Regions from separate parts of the Homo sapiens genome. Here region 1 is linked to region 2. Evidence: promoter capture Hi-C in human tissues and cell types (Jung and others, 2019). All regions are on one chromosome and are shown on one strand. The core of a region is centred on a gene start or on the middle of the fragment in contact, and the rest is flanking DNA. Distances in the headings are between cores, read along the strand shown. Region 1 overlaps ANKFY1 (ankyrin repeat and FYVE domain containing 1). Region 2 holds the start of C17orf107 (chromosome 17 open reading frame 107).

Region 1 (5,354 bases), core at 1,320-3,819, 670 kb before region 2:
TAACTTATCTAGAAAACCAGGAATACTCAAATTGATAAAGCGTATCCAAGAAAAACCTACAACTAATCTATACAAAATGATAAAAGATCTCATTGTTTCTCCCTGAGATCAAGAACAAAGGATGCTTGCTTTCAGACAAATGACTTGTATCTAAATTATATACAGAACTGTTAATACTCAATACTCAAAACTCAATACAATGCCACATTTTGAAAAGGCCAAAGATGTGAATACTTTATAAGAAAATATAAAATTGTCAATAACACACAAAGAAGGTTCAGCATTATTATCAGGGGAATGCAAAATAAAACTGCCATGCACTCTGTATCCATTAGAATGGCTAAAATTGTAAACAAAAACCAAAACAACCTGCCTATATCAAGCGTTAGTCAGGATGTGAAGCACCTGGAGCTCTCATATCCACGGCTAATGGGAATGTAAAATGGTACATCCATTTTGCAAGACAGTTTGGTAGTTTCTTAACATTAAACAGTCCCTCCTAGATATTTACTCAAGAGATATAAAAACATGTCTACACAAAGGCCTTACACAACTGAATACAGGTAATTTTCTTGCTAATAAAACCCAGAAAGAACACAAATGTCCATCAACAGGTAAATGCAAAAAAAAAGTGTGGTATTTTCATACAATGGAATACTATTCAATAACAAGGAATGAATAATTAAAACACAAAGCAACATACTAAGGTGTGGGGTGAATGTCAAAATCTATATGCTAAAAGAAGTGAAAGAAGCCAGACAAAAGGGACTCTATGCTCTATGATTGCACTTCTATAAAAGCCTAGAAACTGCAAACTAATCTATAATGACTGAAAGCAGATCAGCATTTAGCTGCAGAAGTGGATGGCAAAAGGGATGGATTGCAAAGAGACATGAGGAAAGCTTTAAGGATGGAAATGTTTTTTGTTAGTTTTTTTTTTTTTTCTTGAGACAGAGTCTCACTCTGTCGTCCAGACGGGAGTGCAATGACGCGATCTCGGCTCACTGCAACCTCTGCCTCCCAGGTTCAAGCAATCTCCTACCTCAGCCTCCCAAGTAGCTGAGATTATAGGCATGTGCCACCATGCTCGGCTAATTTTTTGTATTTTTAGTAGAGATGGGGTTTCGCCATGTTAGCTAGGCTGGTCTCAAACTCCTGACCTCAAGTGATCCACCCAACTTGGCCTCCCAAAGTGCTGGAATTACAGGCGTGAGCCACCACACCCAGCAAGGATAGAAATGTTTATGTTGATTGTGGCAGTGGCTTCACAGGTGTATTCGTATGTCAAAACTTATCCAATTGCACACTTTTAATGTGGGCAGTTTACTGTACTTCCATTACACCTCAATTTGGAGGAAAAAGAAACCAAACTGACAGGCAGCACGGCACTGTGGTTAATGGCACGAATTCTGCAGCCAAACTACCTAGGGTTCAAATCCCGGCTCCAATCCTTGCTAACTGTGTGGAGTTAATACATAATAAAGCACTCAAAACACCACCACCACATAGTAACTGCTATGTAAAAACTTGCTATTATTACAATAGACTATTTAGAAATTGATCACAATGAAAACAGTACCTACCAAAATATTTGCAATGTAGTCAGATTCATACTATAAAAAAAAGTCATAGTCTTAACCTTATTAGAAAATGAGGCCAGGCATGGTGGCTCACACCTGTGATCCCAGCACTTTGGGGGGCCGCAGTGGGTGGATCACCTGAGGTCAGGAGTTCAAGACCGGCATGGCCAACGTGGCAAAACCCCATCTCTACTAAAAATACAAAAATTAGCCAGGCGTGGTGGCGGGCACCTGTAATCCCAGCTACTCAGGAGGCTGAAGCAGGAGAATCACTTGAGCCCAGGAGGTGGAGGTTGCAGTGAGCTGAGATCACACCACTGCACTCCAGCCTGGGTGACAGAGTGAGGCTCTGTCTCAAAAAAAAAAAAGAAAATGAGATAAAAGATAGTAATTCAACTCAAAAAGAAAAAATAATTCAAAGGAATTTCAAAGAAAGATTTAATACAGATAAAAAGAAATTATTGAATTGGCTAAATATAAATAAAAATTAAAAGAACAATGAACCTAAACCAAATCTGCAATAAGCCAACACAAACACAAACTTAACATAACCAAAGATTGGTGAGAAAAACCCAAAAGCAGTATGAGGATTAAGTAAAGAATATAACCGCAGATAAAATAGATTATTTTGAGCTCTGAGAGAATCTTTGGGCATGGGACTCAGCTGCTGGCAGGAGGCCACAAGGCTGTTTGAGTGTCCTCATGACATGGCCGCTAACGTTCCCCCAAAATGAGCAATCCAAAAGAGAGAGCTAGGAAGAAGCCACAGTGCCTTCGATGAAGCCATCTCTCAAGTCACATGCTGCCACTTCTACCACACTCCATTCATTAGAGGTGAATCAGCCTATACTGAAGAGGAGAATTTGAATCCACCTTTGCAGGGAGAAATAGCAAAGAATTTGTGAGCATATTCTTTTTTACTCCTTTTTGTGAGCATATTCTAAACTTCCCGTGGATGTCATCGAAGGAACACAGTATGATTTAATACTGAAACTGAACAGCCTTAACCTAGTAGTTCACACAGTAGCCAACAGATGTTGAATATTGCTGTGCTTCTCTTAAAAATTTAAATAGCACACAGCTCCCCGAGTACACAGTTTGGGAAACTATGCCCTTTCCACTGCAGAGTGCAAGCTTTCCAGATGGTGCTTCAGGGGATAGCTTTCCCAACCAGAGTGAAAAGGAATAAAGGAGGATGTTTTCTGCTGTTTGGAATGGCTTGACACTATCCAGGACACATTCCAGGAGAGCTGAATGACTCATACCCTGAGCCCTTATGCCAAGGAACTGTAAGATCTTTGCTTGAGAAAGTATGCAACAAACTCTAGCTTCAAAACAGCCATTCTAATCCATTGGAACCTCTCATCGTGTCAGCTGCTACTGGTAAAGTGCTACAGAGAGGCCATAAACAGATCATTTTGCTAGAAGCAAATTGCTTTACTTCACCAAGAAGTAAATATAATACTTTCCTTGTGGACTCAGATTTGTTATGCTTTGCTGAGCTAACAGTCATATTCTTTCTCTTCCCACTTGGTCAATCAGTATCTTTATAAACTTTTATCTTTTATTCTTTTTTATTAGGGTTTAACAGACAAAAATTATATAGAGTTAATGTATGACATGTTTTGATATATGTATGCACTATGAAATGGTTATAAGCTAATTAACATATCACTTCATATATTTAAAGATACCTTAGTAAGAAATAAAAAAGCAAATTTCTACTTTGTTTACATTTTCAGATACTTTCATACTTTGAGAAAAGCTGCAGAGCATCCCCATATGCCCTTTACTCATCTTCCCCTATTATTAATACAGCTTATATAACCATAGTACAATGATCAAAATTAGGTAACTACGTAATACATACAATACCAATACCATTAACTAATTATAGGCCCTATTTTGCCAATTTTACCAGTAATACCCTTTTTATGGCCAGAATCCAACTGAGGATTCTACACTGCATTCAGTGTTAGTCTCACCCAATCTGTAATACTTCCTAAACCATTCTTGTTTTTCATAACCTTGACATGTTTGAGAAACACTCTGGCTGATTATTTTGAGAAATGTCCCTCAATTTGGGTCTGATGTTTTCTCATGAGTAGATTGAGGTTATGCATTAATGGCAAAAATCCTATACAAGAGCCAGGCAGAGTGGCTCATGCCTGAAATTCCAACACTTTGGGTAGCCAAGGCAGGAGGATCATCTGAGCCCAGGAGTTTGAGACCAGCCTTGGCAACACAGCAAGAGCCCATCTCTATTAAACAATTAGCCAGGGATGGTGGTGAACACCTGTACTCCCAGCTACTTGAGAGGCTGAGGTGGGAGGATCTCTTGAGCCCAGGAGTTCAAGGCTTCAGTGAGCCGCGATAGTGTCACTGCATTCCAGCCTGGGCGACACAGTGAGACCCTATCTCAAAAACAAAAAAAGAATCCTACAGAAGTGATTGTGCCTTCATCAGTGGATCATATCAGGTACAAACATTTCACTTTTTTGAACAAGGTATGATTCATATATCCAAACACCTTTAAAGTGTATATAATGCCTGTTGTATTTCATCAACATATGCTAAAATTCTCATAATCAAGGCTGTGTGCAGTGCCTCACACCTGTAATCCCAACAGGCCTTTGGGAGACCAAGGCAGGAGGATTCCTTGAGTCCAGGAGTTCAAGACCAGCCTGGGCAACATGGCAAAATCTCATGTCTATAAAAAATGAGACAGGCATGGTAGCACACACCTGTGGTCCCAGATACTCAGGAGGCTGAGGTGGGAGGATCACCTGAGGCCAGGAGGTCAAGGCTGCAGTGAGCCGTGATTGCACCATGGCACTCTAGCCTGGGTGACAGAGTGAAATCCTGTTTAAAAAAAAAAAAAAAAGAAAGAAAGAAATATCAATTAGACAAGAACATCAAAAAGAAAAATGTGGAGTTTTTCTTACATTCTAAGATGTAAGTTTATGCAAGCAAGAATTTAATTTTGTACACTTTGTATCCCTAACACCTTGAAAAGCGCTTACCACTCAATGTTTTTTATATGAATGGATTAATGTTGAAAAAACAAAACACCAATAAATTCATTAAATGATTTTATCAAGCCTGTTGGTGTGGAAAACATTTGAGCCTTTAAAATACAGCTTTTATGCTATTTATACACCTGTTTACAAGAACCTATTTCCAATCTTCCTCAAATTGCTGCCATGAAGTGTCAGTGCTTCCAGGTATCACATAACACACAGGCTTCCCAGGCAGTCTCAGCAACTGCAAGCCCAGGTTTAGGCAATGAGCAGGACTGCTGGGCAAAGCACACAATTCAACAGGAACAGGCCCACACATGCCACTACCACCTTGGACCTCTCCCCCATAACACATTTCAAAGATACATTTCATTAAAATGTCATAAAAAGTAAAAATGCCACATGTTCTCCTATCTGCTATCTTCACAGGTGCTTGATCTGTGAAAGCCACAAAAACCATTTACTTTGAAGCGGATCACTCCTGAAAGCAAACCTTATAGTAGAATCAAAACACGCTTATTATTTACAACTGGAGGAGAGTCTAGAGACATTTAAAGACATTAATATTCTATTTTCCTGAACTCGAGAAAACTTCCTGACTCACAGTGATGCAATCTTGTGGCCAGACAGCACTGAATTAAGGCCAGACAGCACTGAATTAAAGCTCTAAACGTTTGGATGTACTAAAAAATTTCAGTGTAAAGCAAAATTTTTTAATTCAATGTTAAAATTGGCTTTTTATTCCTTGATGTAA
Region 2 (2,500 bases), core at 1-2,500:
TGTTTGGTTCCCACCCGCTCCAGCAGAGCCAGACCAGGGAAGAAGAGGGTTTCCTGGCTACAGCCTCCCTGTGTGCAAGTCCTGCAAAGGGGTCTCCTGTTTGGCTATGAAATGAATATAGATAGATAGCTCACAAGCTGGCAGCCACCAGAGTCCCGTGGGGCTGAGCCTTAGAAAGGCTGGGAGGTCAGCAAGGCTGAATGAAGGGCAGTCCTTGCTTTCTGGAAGACTGGCACCTGAGAGCCTATGTGAACCCTTTCCTCCTGCTGACCCCTGGACTGCGGCCAGGCCTACACACGCCAGGGAACGGGCACACACCATTCTTGTGAAGTTCACAAACTGCAGATTGATCAGCAGGGGGAAGGGATCATAATGCCGTGGTGGCGGCAGCCTACTTTTTCAAAATCAATTTCCTACTGGAGATGGGTGGGAAATTGAAGTCGGTGCGAGCTAAGGCTGGATACACGGCGCGTAGGGGAGATCAGGCACTCGGTTGAAGTAGGCCCCGAGGAAGATGAGGCTGGAGCCCACGCTGAAGAGCACCAGAGCGGCCCAGAAGCAGATGTTGTCAAGGGCATTCCCCATGCGCACCCAGTCGGACACTTCCTGGGGAAGGGTCGGCACAGTCAGTAAAGAGGCAGCTGCAGGAGCCAGCGGCATGGGAGACAGTGGTGGGCCTCTGCCTCGCTCCACCCGCCTCTGGCTCCTGTCCCACCTCGCCGGTGGCCTCCTGATCTCTCGTGCTCTCGGCCACGAAGTTCACGGCATCCACACAGCAGCGGACCTCGGGGGCGGCGGCGCCCAGGCTCTGGCAGAAGGCAGCTGGCGGGGAAAACACCGGGGTGGGCCTTAGGAGCCTCCCCCCTGGCAGGCACCCCGCGCGGCCCCCCGGGCCAGGGCCACTGTGCTCACCCGTCCAGGTCCCCTGCCGGTGCCTCTGCCCCTCAAACACGAGCTCGCTCCGTGGCTTTTTCAGTATCAGCTCCTCCGCGCGGAGCAATAAGCCCACCGACGACGCCCGCCTTGGGGGCGAGGCGGCCCGGGGGGCCTCGGGCGGCGGCGGGGAGCCCAGGAGGCGCGGCAGCAGCTCCAGGAGAACCTGGGGCAGGGGCGGGGCTTAGGGGACGAGGTTAGTACGAAGCCCCACCCCGACCCGGGCTGCACCGCCCCCTCCGCGCTTACGTGGCGCAGCCGCGGGGACATGGCGTGGGTGGTGGGCGTCCGCTGGGACACGTTGAGCACGATGACGCAATTCATGACAATGAGCGTGGCGACCACCATGACGAAAATAAGGAACCTGAGGAGCCCGGAAGGCATGACATCACCGTTCCTCCTCCCAGCTACCGAAGGCGCCGCGCGCTGACCTCACAAACACGGCTTCTCCTGGTACGGGCTGGTTACGCCCTCCAGCTGCGCCCCCTACACGACGACAGACGCGTCCCCCAGCCCTTCTCCTGTCCTACCACTTGTGGCGGCCATGAAGGGGACCCCCAGCTCCCTGGACACCCTGATGTGGATCTACCACTTCCACAGCTCCACCGAGGTGAGGCTACGCCCGCCAAGGGCTGCACCTCGAGACCTTCTGGGTAGGTCTCCTGTTCGCCCCTGTGACCCCTGCCCTGCTACTCTACTGCTCTGCTCCTTCTCCAGGTGGCCCTCCAGCCCCCGCTTCTGTCTTCCCTGGAACTCTCCGTGGCCGCAGCCCATGAATATCTGGAGCAGAGGTTCAGAGAGCTGAAGTCCCTGGAGCCACCCGAACCGAAGATGCAGGGGATGCTGCCTGCCCCGAAGCCCACCCTGGGGCTGGTGTTGAGAGAAGCCACAGCCAGCCTCGTGAGCTTCGGCACCACCTTGTTAGAGGTGGGGTACTGGGGGGCTTAGGATACGCGGCGATCGGGTAGCGGGAACAAGGACCTCTGCCTCCCCGCTAACCCCTGTGCCCCCAATGCAGATCTCAGCCCTGTGGCTGCAGCAGGAGGCGCGGCGACTAGACGGCAGCGCGGGCCCAGCCCCAGACGGCAGGGATCCGGGTGCAGCGCTGAGCCGGGTAGCCCAAGCCGCAGGGCAGGGGGTTCGGCAAGCTGGGGCTGCGGTGGGCGCCAGCGCCCGGCTCCTAGTCCAGGGAGCATGGCTATGCCTGTGTGGACGGGGTCTGCAGGGGTCTGCCTCATTCCTGCGACAGTCGCAACAGCAGCTAGGCCTCGGAATCCCCGGAGAACCGGTGAGCTCAGGACACGGGGTGAGTTAGGGGCCAGAGGCGGCGGGGCTAGGGAGGCACTGAGCCGGACTGTCCCCCAAGAGAGCTACTCGGGAGACCTCCAGGTGACGTCCAGCAGCAGTGAGGAGGACGGCGGACCAGGGACTCCATCCCCGTACCAGCCCCACCCAGCGTCCGAATAAAGCCCAGGGCGGGGCGAGACAGCCAGAGCTTTTCCCGGGGTCTCTGGGTTTTGGCCACGCCCCCACCCTTCACACTGGCCACACCCCCGCGGGGGCTCCG

The links. The method cuts DNA at HindIII sites, captures the fragments that hold promoters and counts their contacts. A contact is called where the count stands out against the background at its distance.
Region 1: a contact is called between a fragment that was not itself captured here and the fragment with the promoter of C17orf107 in region 2, in 3 of the 25 tissues and cell types used here (dorsolateral prefrontal cortex, lymphoblastoid cells and spleen).

Annotation. Positions count from the first base shown.
Region 1 is chr17:4,227,488-4,232,841 of GRCh38, forward strand. The region is part of intron 3 of ANKFY1 (ankyrin repeat and FYVE domain containing 1); the gene reads right to left. Among named protein-coding and RNA genes, the nearest start is that of ANKFY1, 34 kb to the right of the region's middle. The HindIII fragment of the contact is 6,569 bases long and covers 1-5,354 here.
Region 2 is chr17:4,898,286-4,900,785 of GRCh38, forward strand. C17orf107 (chromosome 17 open reading frame 107) reads left to right here and starts at 1,251. Exons shown (of 3, transcript NM_001145536.2): 1 at 1,251-1,543; 2 at 1,651-1,860; 3 at 1,952-2,500. The coding sequence starts at 1,478. The coding sequence ends at 2,248. It overlaps CHRNE (cholinergic receptor nicotinic epsilon subunit), which reads right to left. Exons shown (of 12, transcript NM_000080.4): 9 at 1,183-1,297; 10 at 913-1,099; 11 at 716-822; 12 at 1-606. The coding sequence ends at 451. RefSeq lists silencers at 848-997, 1,018-1,127 and an enhancer at 1,328-1,637. The HindIII fragment of the contact is 33,281 bases long and covers 1-2,500 here.